Linked DNA regions of Homo sapiens: all the other regions are linked to region 3. Evidence: promoter capture Hi-C in 16 types of primary human blood cells and fetal thymus (Javierre and others, 2016). All regions are on one chromosome and are shown on one strand. The core of a region is centred on a gene start or on the middle of the fragment in contact, and the rest is flanking DNA. Distances in the headings are between cores, read along the strand shown. Region 1 overlaps GINS1 (GINS complex subunit 1). Region 2 overlaps NINL (ninein like). Region 3 holds the start of PYGB (glycogen phosphorylase B). Region 4 overlaps ABHD12 (abhydrolase domain containing 12, lysophospholipase). Region 5 overlaps ACSS1 (acyl-CoA synthetase short chain family member 1).

Region 1 (2,739 bases), core at 131-2,630, 170 kb after region 3:
GAGTCAGGTGGGCTTAGGTTCAAATCTCTGCTGTCTAATATTGAGCAAGTCACTTGACCTGTTGCTGTGCCTAAATTTCCTTGTTACAGGATGAAGATCATATTACCTATCTATTACAGGTTGCAATGACTTTTGACACTAACTACCTGCAGTTATTGTCAACTAAGGAAGCTCACACAAGCTTTGATGTCCAGAGTGTTTATTGGGGCTTCATTACATAGACATGACTGATTAAATTGCTGGCCCTGTGATTGAGTTCAATCTTCATCCCTCTTCCCCTCCCTGGAGGTCAGACTGACATCAGGAGGGCCAAAGGCCCAATACTTTAATCACATGGTTGGTCTTTCTGGGGTAGCCAGTCCCAACTCTGAGTCATCTTGTTAGCACAGACTATGTAGGGGTTCACCACGAGTCACCTGAGTAGCACATACTCTCAGGGCACATCATAAATAACAAGACACTCCTATTACTTGAGAAAGTACAAGAATTTAGAAGCTACCTCCCAGGAATGAGGGAGAGAGGCCCACCAAATTCTTTATTCTACAACAGTGTTATTACAAGGCCTATCACAGGGTTACTTCAGGTGGTCCATGTGGAGCACAGCATAGGATGGCACTCAATAAATGTTAACAGTTACTACATTACAGTTGCATAGCACAGAGCTTAAGAAAGAAAATATTCAGTGCAGCAAACCACCATGGCACATGTATACCTATGTAACAAACCTGCACGTTCAGCACATGTATCCCAGAACTTAAAGAAAAAAAAAAAACAAATATTCAATGTGTTTGCCATTAGATTCTGCACATTTTTGAAAGTGATCTATTTGTTGTCATAGCTTCATTTTCATTCTGTTCATTTTCTGCATAAATAAATGAGTAATCTCTACCTCAGATTTACCAGTGACTACGAAATTGGTAACATGTTAGTACCTCACTTTATGCTCTTTGTGTTCAAATCTACTTATATTAATTGAACTTTGGGGTACTTACTGTGTATTATGGTGAGATGAACAGAACATTATGTTTCTCTAACGACAGTAGCTTTAATGATTTTTCTCATACAATATTTTAGATTAATTTTTTTGTGTATTTTTTGAGATGGAATCTCGCTCTGTTGCCCAGGCTGGAGTACAGTGGTGCATTCTCTGCTCACTGCAACTTCCGCCTCCTGGCTTCAAGCAATTCTCCTGCCTCAGCCTGCCAAGTAGCTGTGATTACAGGTGCGTGCCTCCATGCCTGGCTAATTTTTGTATTTTAGTAGAGACAGGGTTTCACTATGTTGGCTAGGCTGGTCTCGAACTCCTGACCTTGTGATCTGCCCCTCTTGGCCTCCCAAAGTGCTGGGATTCCAGGTGTGAGCCACAGCGCCTGGCGATTAATATGTTTCTTACAATTTAGTAAATGATTACAAGCTGCATTTATTCAAGCACATCAATTAGATTTCATATTGGGCATTGTTTCTGTAAGGGTGGCACTTTTCTGTGATTACTGAGTTCCCAAAGTCAGTTTCTATTTTAATGAAATATAACAATGTTAACAGCAAATAAAATATATATATATTTTTTTGAGATGGAGTCTCGCTCTGTTGCTCCAGCTGGAGTGCAGTGGCACGATCTTGGCTCACTGAAACCTCTGCCTCCCGGGTTCAAGCGATTCTCCTGCCTCAGCATCCCGAGTAACTGGGATTACAGGTGCCCACCACTACACCCAGCTAATTTTTGTATTTTTAGTAGAGACGGGGTTTCACTGTATTGGCCAGGCTGGTCCTGAGCTCCTGACCTGATGATCTGCCCACCTCAGCCTCCCAAAGTGCTGGGATTACAAGTGTGAGCCACAGTGCCTGGCCTTATATAAAATAATATTAATGGGTCTAGAGATTAAGTTGTTTGAGAATAGTGAAACCTGAGATAGTTTCTTGGAAGAGTTTGTGAATTACTGCAAAACTGGCAAATGACTTCCTTCTACCCCAGTGACCTCATCTATAAAAAGGAATATACCAGCCTGGCCAACATGGTGAAACCCTGTTTCTACTAAAAATACAAAGATTAGCTGGGTGTGGTGGTGTGCACCTGTAATCCCAGCTGGTCAGGGAGGCTGAGGGCAGGACAATTGCTTGAGCCTGGGAGGTGGAGGTTGCGATGAGCTGAGATCGCACCACTGCACTCTGGTCTGGGAGAGAGAGTGAGACCCTGTCTCAAAAAAAAAAAAAAAGAAAAAAAGAAAAAGAATAAAAGGAATATACATGGTCTCGTTCTCTTAGTAGTGATGTTTTGGAAACACTGAAGGATGAGAAGAGATTAATACAGATAAACTCTGTAGTAGACCACAGACATCTCTGCTTGAGCAATTGCATCGTGGCAACTGCATCAGCCATTTTGGACCAGTAACAAAGAATATTTCCAGGTATCCCTGACAGCTTATAGGAGCCTATGAGGTCTGAATGTCATCATAGGTATCTGTATTACCCAAGGATAGTGCTTCAATGGGTGACTGAAGCACATGGGCTTGAGTCTGCCACCTAAATTCAGATCCCTGCCTTGTTAACTCTGAGCCCTTTGGTAAATTATCTAATCTCTCAAAGCTTCAGTCCTTCATGAATAAAAAGAAAATAATAATAGTAGTTACATCATGGGGCAATGAAAAAGAGAAAATAATGCATATTAAAATTTTAGCAAATTCCTGGTATATAGTAAGCACTTTATTACTGGGAGTGATGATTTCAATATTGTTGACTCAG
Region 2 (2,700 bases), core at 98-2,597, 210 kb after region 3:
TGTCCCGGACCACGAGCCCCTGCCACCATAGCCCAGCCTCCTGTGTCTGCACCTCCCGCGCCTCTCACCTGCGGGGCCAGCAGATGTGGCACCCGGAGGCGTGTACAGAGGCCAGTGTCATGCATGCCCATGAGTGCCCATGTCACCCCACTCCCAGGGCTGGAGCCTGCTGCCTTGGTTCTGACGACACAGTCCCCAGGCTTGCCTCTGGCTCCTCCATTCTGTGGAGGGCTCACCCACAGGCATGGTGCCCGCACTCCTTCCCTCGGGAGTAAACAGTCACTACTCTTCACGGGGCTTGCTGACAGTCAAACCAACCCTGCACTGGGAGCAGCTTCGGTCCTGGCCCGGTAAGCACCTGGACAGCTGTGCCCAGCAGCGCAACTACTTCTTTGGGCTGGAGGAGGCCTGGCAACACCGTTGGCACTGCGGTGATGCTGCTCCCAGGTGGGACTGGACCCAGTGCCTCCAGCCATCGCTCACACCCACCTGGTCTTGACTTTCCTCAAGGGTCTGGGTCAGCTCTGACCATGGCAGCTGCAGGCTCTGATGTTCCTGATTCAGGCATTCAAGTTCAACTCTAAGTTTTTGGATTTGGTCACTCTGTTTTTAAAAAATCAATTGCACAAGTCAAGAAGTATCTGAAGAGTCTGGTATGTAATTCGTGCAAAAACCTCAGAAAATTACAGAAAAGAAAAAAAGTACAAAATTTAAATCCCTGTGAACCCACCAACCAAGGCCGGCCCTGTGTCCTGCAGTCACTCCCCGGCCCCTCCTCTACACACACGCATCTCCCTGGTGAGACAGTGTCAGGTGCGCCACGCACTGCAGGAAGTGCCTTCTCCTCACTGCAGTGGGAGCGTTTCCTGGGGCATTAGTTATGATTTGAAAACATGGTTTTCAGTGGCTGTGCTGTGATCCAGTGACTCCCTCAGCTTCTGTTGGTGACTCGGCCGATTTCAGTTCTGCTTTGCTATTATAAACAGCACAGCAAGGAAAATGCTGCAGCTGCATCCTTCCACAAGGCTCTCGGGAACATCCCCATCGGAATCGTGAAGTCAAGGCATGTGGACTTTCTTCAGCCTCTAAGTGTGTATTTTGCCAAACTGCCCTCGGGGAACTTTGTACCAATTCACTCCTCTGTCAGCAGCATATAAAGCTATTCTGCTATTTTCTTTAGATACTGGGATTTGCCAACACAGCACAGTCCACCTACTTCTCCAAGGCATGCTTGGGAAGTCCCTCACTTCCCTCCAGGCTCCTCAGCGCGTGTCCTGACCTATTTGCAGCCGCCTCCCCACCCTGAGCTCCCAGCCTCCAGCTCAGCTCCCTGCGGCTGAGGCCACCCACCTGCTGCTGCCCACTGCGAACCACCTCCTCCAGGCTCTGTGTTAACATCTGAATGGTCACACGATGCTCCTCGTTTTGGGCCTGGTGGGTAGAAGCCTCCTGTCCCAGTTGAAGAACCCTGACATTGAGCTGGGATAATTGATCCTTGTAGTTCTGATTCTGGGGGAAAAAGTTTTTAAATACATAAGAAAAAAATGTTTTTAATTTTCATGTTATATATACATTTGCCCATCATTGGCTATATTTTTATTAAGTAGTCATTTGTTTTGTTTTGTTTTGTTTTGTTTTTCAAGACAGGCTCTCGCTCTGTTGCCCTGGCTGGAGTGCGGTGGCACATTCATGGTTCACTGCAGCCGTGACCTCCTAGGCTCAGGCGATCCTCCCACCTCAGCCTCCCAAGTAGCTGGGACCACAGGCACACGTCACCACTCCCACCTAGTTTTGTTTTTTGGTCGAGACAGGGTCTCTAGCTGTGTTGCCAAAGCTGGTCCCGAACTCCTAGCCTCAAGGGATCTTCCCATCTCAGCCTCCCAAAGTGCTGGGATTATAGGTGTGGGCCACTGAGCCCAGCCCCACCTTGCCCCCTAAAATACTTTTAAGCCAGCAGCTCAATTCATATCATTGTAATTGCTCTCAACCAGGTACAACTTTGCTCCTGAGGAAATGTCTGGCAATGTCTCCAGGTATTTTTGGTAATCACAGCTGGAGATGGAGGCATGGGGGCACTTGACACCCTACAACACAGATGATTTGGCCCCAAACGTCACCAGTGCCGAGGACAGAAAGCCCTGCTCCAGCCCCTAGGAAAAACACACACACATCTAGGCCACCAGAAGGGAGTATATGCCATGACCGTCCAAACCACTGTTTGGAAGACCTTTCACGTTTTTCTCATTTCCTCCACGATTATTTTAATATATTTAAAAATATATGGCAATTTTAACAAAAAAGCAACCTATTTAAACTTGAGGTACATGAATCTCTTAAGTCTCCTCTGATCTCAGTCATTGAACACACAAGCGTAGCTCTTGGCAGGGTACATAGGTTCATCAAATTGTATGTTTTGCTTTTTCTCAATAGCACCTCCCACAGACAAAGGATTTCAGCAAACGTTCATGAGGGGAACCTGTGAGGGCGCAGTGCAGTGACAGCGGCAGGAAAGTGGCCCTGCGGTCTGGACCACGGAGGCTCTGCTGTCTGCAGCCACCTGTCAGGAACATCTTCATGCAACCATATTTCTGCTTACTTGCTTTTTCCCACCGCAGCTCCTGGGGGTTTGGAGTGATGTCCTCTGACCCGCTCTCAGCACAATCGACCACGCACACGTCACCTTCCCAGAGTGACGCCCAC
Region 3 (2,700 bases), core at 139-2,638:
TTTTTATGACTTCTGAATTGCCAGATCACCCTCAGAGAGATTGCATCAGTGTTCGGAGCTTGCAGCCAAGCTCGACCCCACAGCCCTGCCATCTGTGCCCGAAGTTCGATCTTGTTGGCTCCAGAATCCCTAGGACATAGTGCAGGAGTGAATCCCGAGCTGGAGCTGGGTGGGCTGTGGGGTCATTCCAGATTGATTAACCTCCGACCTCTGAAGTCTGCAGCTGGAAGGGGCTCCAGGTAAGAAGATAACTTTGAAGCATCACACCAGGAAACCTACTGCACCTGGACTTTCATGACATTTCCTGCGGGCAATTTTTACCTCCACGAAATTCAGTAACCTTTGCAGCCCCTTCAGCCCAAGACCACCAGGAGCAAACCTGTGGTCCACAAAATCGGGTGTACTGACCCACTGCAATGAGGGAGCGCCTCCCAAGAACGAAGGGAAAGGCAGAGTTTGAAGGGGTTGAGGGAAGGCAGAGTTTAGGTGACCTTTACATGAAGCAGGGTTCCCACAGGCTGAGGCCAGCAGGACTGTGTTCCGCGGGGCCAAGTGTGGGAAGCTGTGTGCAGACGCCCCCTATCTGGAGCTGCAGCCTGGATTGGGATGACAGAGGCTAAGTCTCGGTTAGTGGCTGAGCTCCCCGGCCAGACGGGCATGTTTCCTTCTCCCTGCTGTAATCTCAAAGCGGACAGCGTCTGCCAGGTGGTTTCGGGAACAGGGTTTCTCCGAGGGCTAGGGGGCTGCGGTCCCTCCGAGGCGGGGTCGTGGTGGCATTTGGCTGTGGCTGCCTCGCGCCCTCGGGAACGGGCGTCTCCAGCTCGCTGGCAGCTGGTTTTCTCCACGTCTGTCATCGGCCTGGAGTGGCAAGCAAATAGCTGGTATTTTCAGAGCCGCCCTGCCCCGGACAGAGAAGACCGGGCCCAGCAGGCGTTGGTGGATGCCTTTCAAGCTGTAATCAGTTTCCCCGAACGTGTACCAGGTCTCGGCCACAGCCCGAGCCCAGCGCGCTCCCGCGGGGCACCTGGTGACCCGGTGCAGGGCGGGAGGGCCGGTCCCAGGAACCCGAGGGCCGGAGGGCAGGGCCCCCTTCCCGCACCGTCCCCGGGCTGGCAGGAGCGGCCACGACGGCACGCTCCGAGGCCCCGGGTCCCTTGCCCCCTCCAGTCGCTCCCACTTTCTGCCGGGCTTGCCCAACGAGGGGGCAAACACCACGCTCAGGTGGCGTGGACAGGTCGCTGCCGCCTCGGACTACACCAGAGATCTCAGCTATGAGCCTGGACGCCCGCCCCGCCCTCCCGAGGCCCCGCCCCGCCCCCCGAGGCCCCGCCCCGGCGCGGCGCGCAGGCGCGGTCCATCCCGCCCGCAGAGCCGCAGTGCCGGGCGCCAGAGCAGCGGCGCCAGAGCAGCTGCACCATCCCGGCGTTCGCGTGTGCCGCCGCTTTCCTCCTCCATCTCTTTTCCTCCGCCTCCGCCGGCGCGATGGCGAAGCCGCTGACGGACAGCGAGAAGCGGAAGCAGATCAGCGTGCGCGGCCTGGCGGGGCTAGGCGACGTGGCCGAGGTGCGGAAGAGCTTCAACCGGCACTTGCACTTCACGCTGGTCAAGGACCGCAATGTGGCCACGCCCCGCGACTACTTCTTCGCGCTGGCGCACACGGTGCGCGACCACCTCGTGGGCCGCTGGATCCGCACGCAGCAGCACTACTACGAGCGCGACCCCAAGGTGAGGCGCTGCCCCGCCCTGTGCGCCCGTGCCCGCTGAGAGGGCGCCGGTCCCGGAGCCGCGCCAGCGGGGGTCTCTGCGGGGCGGCCCGTCGGGCGTTACCTGCGCCCCTAGCCGGCCGGCGGCCAGGCACAGCCGACTGGGGAGTCGCCTGGAAGCCGCAGTCGGCGGGGCCCGGGCGTCCCCTGCGCAGGGCCGCGGCCACGGGTCCGCCCCACTGGGAGCCCGCGCCTGGCGGGGTCCGCCGTCCCCCGCAGATGATGCTGAGCCCGGGAGCCTGGCGGACGTTCCCGGTCTCTTTCTGGCCGTGCGCTTCCGCGCTGGCTGCAGAGCCGGTGCTCCCCGCCCCTGCCTCCAGCCACTCTTTGTTTTCCTGCAGCAGCCTGTGGGAGAAAATGGGACTGGAACCAGGCCTGGGCAGCCTTGTGGGTTGGAATGGGGTGAGCTCGGTAATCTGCAGGGAATTGTGAGACTTTTTTTTGTGTACGCTGCTTAGAAGAAAATCACTGAAGATGCCTGCTTCACGCAGGGAGGGGTACGAAGCTCAGAGATGGAGATGGAGCCCTCGAAGAAGGCTCTGTCTTAGAGGTTCCCACACCTCCCTTGGAGAAATTTGCTTGGGTTGAAGTTGACAGAGATCATCTTACTAATTGTTACTTTTTATATCTTGCAAAAATTTGTTTGAGTAGTGAAACAAAGTCACTGATTGTCCCCGTTACTCTTAACCATGTTTACTATGGGCCTGTGTTCTTGCTGTGTTTTTGGTATTCCTAAATATACATACACATTTTTAAAAAGTATAATGCACATACAGTTTTTTAGATTTTCTGTTTCATTCGTAAACATTTGTAACTTTTTCACTGATAAACAGCTTTGCAGGTCAATGGATAGGATGGTAGTTTTCAGTTTGATAGGTACATGGTAGTCTTGCACAGCCCCCTGTTGCCAGTTTTTTGTTGTTGTCGTTTGCTTTTA
Region 4 (2,700 bases), core at 35-2,534, 130 kb after region 3:
CCTCAAAATTTGTATGTTGAAGTCTTAACCCCTAGCACTTCAGAATATGACTGTATTTAGAGAGAGGGTCTTAAGGAGGTAATTATGCTAAAATGAGGTCATCAGGGTGGACCCTAATCCACTATGACTCAGCTTTGTAAGAAGAAATGCAGAAAGAGCCACACACAGAGGTTAGACCATATGAAGACACATGGAGAAGGTGGTCATCTACAGGCAAAGCAGAGGGGCCTCATGAGAAACCAGCCCTGCTGACACCTCCATCTTGGACTTCTGGCCTCTGGAATCGAGAGAAAATAAACTTCTGCCATTTAAGTCACCTGGTCTGTGTTACTTTGTTATGGTAGCCCTCACAAACCCATACACCTGGAATTTCCCACTACTGAAGCATGCTGTTCCTGAATGTTCTACCAGTAAATTATAATCTTGCTCTAAGTAGCAGGGACTGTATCTTCTGATCTTTTCAGACAGTTCTTTCCCCAGCCACAGAGAGTTTCCTCACACACGTGTGCTGATCAAGGGGACCCTCTGCAGACCCCAGGGTCTCTCTCTGTGTTGCTCTCTCCTCTCTGGTACTCTGTCCTATAAACTCTAGCCACATTGGTCTCTCCAGATTCTCAGCTCCACACCCACAACCCTGGGAGTCCACGTGGCTCCCCTCCCTGTGCCATGGCGTGGAAGCTCTCTCAAGGAGATCAGCTAGGGTACTGTAGGGCTCACTTCCTTTGTCTGTCACTTCTCCGAGTTTACTGTCCTTTGTTGCTTGGTGCCCAGTGTTTTAAAAATTGTTTCGTGTATGTTGTCGTTTTTGTTGTGGCTGCTATTTGGGTTATTTCCGGGTAAATTCAGCCACCTTGGTCAGTAGTGGAAGTTCTATGTTTCTTTTAAAATATGTCTATAATTAGCTGGGTGCAGTGGCTCACACCTGTAATCCCAGCACTTTGGGAGGCCAAGGCAGGTGGATCACGAGGTCAGGAGATCGAGACCATCCTGGCTAACACGGTGAAACCCCGTCTCTACTAAAAATACAAAAATATTAGCTGGGCGTGGTGGTGGGCGCCTGTAGTCCCAGCCACTTGGGAGGCTGAGGCAGGAGAATGGCATGAGCTGGGAGGCGGAGATTGTAGTGAGCCCAGATCGCACCACTGCACTCCAGCCTGGGCGACAGAGTGAGACTCTGTCTCAAAAAATAATAATAATAATAATAATGTCTACAATTAGTTTTCATCAACTCCTTCATTAATGTAACCATCAAAATTGTTGAGGAAAAGTGTTTTATCATTTAATTCCATGGTATTCTCTTAGAAGGAACAAGAGAGTAACGCCAAATCTCATTCCCCAAGACTAACAGATTAAATTCTTCTTAGCTTTTAGGCGGAAATCTTAACAACAATCTCCATAATCATATTCAAAAGCAGTCAGTGTTGAGAGCAATTTCACTCTACTGAATTGAAAACTTTAAGGCCTTAATAAAACACACAAGAGCAGTCCATAAATGTCTCTTTGTTCCCAAAGAAGAAAACAAAAAATCATGAGGATTCAGTCGGCAGAACTGAACAACTGGGTATCCTACTGTGAGAAGGCCTTATTTTCCTGGCAGAAACAAAAATATTTCACCACTGTGGTACGGCATGTTTTCAGGTGCTTTACACACAGCCACATAACCTTACCTTGCTTTATTTTTCTTTATAGCACTTTATCACCCTTTGAAATTTTACTGTATACTTATGTGCTATCTTTGTTGCCGTGTTTCTCCTTCATGAGAACAGAAGTCCCACAAGGACTGGGATTTGTCCCACTCTTGTGCAGCATTTTATCCACTCTAGCCTTCAGTGAAGGCTAGGTCAACGAAAAAGACATACTTGCTAAATGGATGGAAGAACACAGGAGCAATACTCTCAACACAGGCCACACTGTTCACAGCAATTATCCAGAGGGAGTTTCACTTTCTCTGTTTTAAATTTTTATTAAGAACTCTTTATTACTTTGGAATCAGAAAAAAAAATCAAACTGTTTGAGAGAGGAACAGAGTGAGAGAGAGAGGGCCCCTCAGAGGCCGCCCTTCACCACAGCTATGACATCTCCCAGGCGACCTCATACCTGGAGATGCTTCCCTGGGCCCTGGCAGAATCTCCTTCAGCTTTTTCCTGAGGCTCTGGGGCTGCACTGGCAGCCTCCCAGCTGGCCTGTACTGGCCTAACAGTCCCTTCCTCCTGGAACCCTAAGCCAGATATTGAATGTCCTAGAATGGCAGTCTTTTTTGCTTGCCTTCTTGTAGGTTATGCCATGATGTGCCTTGTCAAGGTGTCCTGTGTCCCCAAACTGAGAATTTTTCTCATGTCTTTAGATGGCTCTATTGGCCAGCAATGCATTTTGCATTACATCCTGTCAAGCAAGAGGCTAAGAGACCTATTCTTAGTCAGTTTTTTGTTTCTATAATTAAATAACTGAGGTCAGTAATTTATAAAGAAGGAAATTTATTTCTTAGCATTCTGGAGGCTGGGAAGTCCAAGGTCAAGGGGCCATATCTGGTGAGGACCTTCTTGCTGGTGGGGACTCCGAAGAGTCCCAAGGTGGCTCAGGGCATCACATGGTAATGGGGATCAGAGGAGATGGCCACACTGCCTTTTACAACAGTGATAACTCTCATGATAACTAACCCAAACCCTCAATAAACCATTAATCTATGAATGGATTCATCCA
Region 5 (2,700 bases), core at 141-2,640, 240 kb before region 3:
TCCCTGGCTGCATGAGCCACACTTCAAGTGCCATTCAGCACCATGAGCAGCCAGAGGCTGCCACCCTGGACAACACAGACAGCTGAGAGGCAGCTGAGAGTTCTGCTGGGCAGCACGGGCCAGCCCACATTATAGCATAAATACTAGCTTTCGTTTTTCAGTACCCTGGCATGTTCCAGGAAGAGTTCACACTGTGAAGAGGGATCTAATTTGATTGTTGTCCATATAAGGAGTTGCTCATCCCGGTGCCATCCCTGATAGCCTGCCCGTCCCCACTGGCCTGTGAGGTGCTCTGTCTCTCCCTCGAAGCTTCTATATATGTGTGGCTCTCCTACTGCTCATCTGCCCCAGCCCCATGCCACCTTCACCCATTCTTCCCTGGCATGTAGCACCTAACTGACTGTGTCGTTTCCTTGGTGATCATCTTTCTTGCTCTTTGTCTGTCTCTCTCCTCTACTCTTGACCCCTCTATGGGGTCAGAGACCTTCTCACTCACTGCTGTGTCCCCAGCATCTAGAACCATGCCTGGAACACAGGAGGTGCTCAACACATGGTTGTTAAGTGCATGAATGGATGATTGGTTTTCTGAACAAGCTATGATCTGTAAAGACCTACAGCCTTTGCCTGAAAGGCCTTCCTATATCCATGTGGCGAACTCCTATTCATCCCTCAAGACTCAGTTCAGCCACCTCCTGCTCTGTGAAGCCTTTCCTGACTCCACCCATGAATCTAGTTTATGGCACATGCTATGTGGGAACAGCTGTCAGTCCCCCTGCTGCCACCCCACTAGGCTGTTAGATCTTTGAGGGAAAGAACACCGTTTTTCTCATCTTGGTCGTTGATATGGGATCAGAAGTGGGCCTGGACTGTTGAGTTCTGAGGATGGAGCTGGAGGGAGGAAACCTTCCACATGGGTGGAGGAGCCAGTTAAGAGCCAGGACGAGGCAGGCAAGGCTCAGGACACTGGAGACAAGAGAGACAAGAGCCTGGCCAGCAGCACCAGAGGCTTGCTGGGTCTAGGTCCTAGACAAGGTCCAGGGGCTGCCCTTTTTCAGAGCTGCTGCAAAACAGAGAGAGTGGGGACAAATATACGATATTCACAGGCAGCTTTAGAGCCAACCAAGAGCTGTTCATCAGCTCTTCATAATTATAGAATGGATACTCAAATTCATTAGAAATCAGGAAAATGCACATCATCATACACATGATAGACAAATTATCCCCACACATCTGGCAGACATTAAGAAGCCTGGCAACACCAGACTTGCAATAGCTCCACACACGCAGAACGTGCCCTGGGCAGCAGCGTCCACAGCAGACCATGCCCCAACACCACCCCAACAGACCTAAGGCTAGGCCACCCTATGAAAGACAGTGATTGTGATGCCCAAACGTTTGTCTAAAGGTCACTTCCATTGTCCTTTCCTTGATCTTGCACTTGCTTTATGGAGTTCAATCCAGGGGCTGCTGAATCCCCAGACACAGTGGACCATGCCCGGACCCCTCTCAGTGGCCCCAGGGAGTACTGGCTCAGCCACTGGACTCAGACATAGATGGGGCTTTCAAATCCCAGGACACGTCAGTGCCCTGTGGACCCCCAGCCCAGAGATGTGAAATGCAGGAGTCCTCAGAGGAGGGGCCCAGGCTCCTGCCAGAGCGAGGTAACCTCAGGGGGGCACTAAGTTACCCTAGTCACACCTGAGAAACTGTCCTCGTCTCCGTCCTCTCTGACCCTCCTGATCACATCTGGACATGTCACCGGGCAGGGGTCCCTACCAGCTCTCTCCCACATCCCAGCCTTACCAGCATAGCCTTTCCATGGCAACTGAAAATGCTGTTTGTAAAGCACTGAAACAAATTCTCAATCTTGCAATGCGTCAATTTAAAGAGAGCATTTAAGTAAATAATGGAATAACGGCACATAGAAGTGCAGGGAGGAAGGTGACATCTGGGACACACTGTGACACAGGGTGGCCTCCCAGCGGGAGGGCAAGCCTGACCCCAAGCCACTGGGCAGGGCAGGAGAAGCCAGTCTGCCCAGCAGTGCCCTGGCATGGGGTCAGTGTGTGTCCAGGTCACGCCAGGCCAGGCAGTGTGCCTGGATGGACCTGGCATTGCAACACCTAGGTGCTCCCGCCCCTTCCCAGACCCAGCCACCAAGAAGCTGGCAGACTCGAAACAAAGCGTGGCCTTGGTAAAGGCCATTCTAGTCCCTCATTCTGCATTCCCCCAGCATGTCGCTGTGCAGTGGGAACCACAGGTCAGATTCGTCCAAAGAGTCCCAGCGCAGCACACAGCCTGCACACTCCAGAGCACACTCTGGCACACACGCGTGGCGGCTGCAGAGCTGGCTTGAGTGCTATGACCAAGCCCGTGAGGATACATGAGGCTGGACATTTTCTCATAAACTCTCTGTAATGGGGCTGGACGGTGTCCCCACCAGATACACCATGGACAGAAGGGGAAACCCCCCAAGCTTAGCCAAGCCCAACTGGGTCATGGCCACTGTGGATGTGTGTCCTGAAAGGACAGCAGAACCAGGGCATTTCAGAAACCCGACCGAACACGAGTGCTATTCAGCCTCCTCCCCTACAGTTTCCACTTGAGAGAGAAGAACACTGAGAGCTTGGCCCACAGTATCCCCTATCACTCCACTCTCCAGAGTCTGCTCCTCGTACAGAGGTGCCCATAATGGGTGTG

The links. The method cuts DNA at HindIII sites, captures the fragments that hold promoters and counts their contacts. A CHiCAGO score of 5 or more calls a contact.
Region 1: a contact is called between a fragment that was not itself captured here and the fragment with the promoter of PYGB in region 3, in 2 of 17 cell types (M2 macrophages and monocytes). The highest score is 5.8, in M2 macrophages.
Region 2: a contact is called between a fragment that was not itself captured here and the fragment with the promoter of PYGB in region 3, in 3 of 17 cell types (M2 macrophages, M0 macrophages and M1 macrophages). The highest score is 11.1, in M2 macrophages.
Region 4: a fragment that was not itself captured here is called in contact with the fragment with the promoter of PYGB in region 3 in 1 of 17 cell types (monocytes); the score reaches 5.7 in monocytes.
Region 5: a fragment that was not itself captured here is called in contact with the fragment with the promoter of PYGB in region 3 in 2 of 17 cell types (megakaryocytes and M1 macrophages); the score reaches 5.5 in megakaryocytes.

Annotation. Positions count from the first base shown.
Region 1 is chr20:25,418,584-25,421,322 of GRCh38, forward strand. The region is part of intron 4 of GINS1 (GINS complex subunit 1); the gene reads left to right. Among named protein-coding and RNA genes, the nearest start is that of GINS1, 12 kb to the left of the region's middle. The HindIII fragment of the contact is 2,402 bases long and covers 180-2,581 here.
Region 2 is chr20:25,461,033-25,463,732 of GRCh38, forward strand. NINL (ninein like) reads right to left here. Exons shown (of 24, transcript NM_025176.6): 20 at 1,351-1,509; 21 at 490-603. Among named protein-coding and RNA genes, the nearest start is that of GINS1, 55 kb to the left of the region's middle. The HindIII fragment of the contact is 3,043 bases long and covers 1-2,700 here.
Region 3 is chr20:25,246,697-25,249,396 of GRCh38, forward strand. It overlaps PYGB (glycogen phosphorylase B), which reads left to right and starts at 1,389. Exons shown (of 20, transcript NM_002862.4): 1 at 1,389-1,725. The coding sequence starts at 1,483. RefSeq lists silencers at 421-674, 693-772, 953-1,142, 1,153-1,342, 1,653-2,032 and an enhancer at 1,423-1,502. The HindIII fragment of the contact is 3,937 bases long and covers 1-2,700 here.
Region 4 is chr20:25,374,941-25,377,640 of GRCh38, forward strand. The region is part of intron 1 of ABHD12 (abhydrolase domain containing 12, lysophospholipase); the gene reads right to left. Among named protein-coding and RNA genes, the nearest start is that of ABHD12, 15 kb to the right of the region's middle. The HindIII fragment of the contact is 4,842 bases long and covers 1-2,700 here.
Region 5 is chr20:25,009,860-25,012,559 of GRCh38, forward strand. The region is part of intron 12 of ACSS1 (acyl-CoA synthetase short chain family member 1); the gene reads right to left. Among named protein-coding and RNA genes, the nearest start is that of APMAP, 18 kb to the left of the region's middle. The HindIII fragment of the contact is 2,167 bases long and covers 308-2,474 here.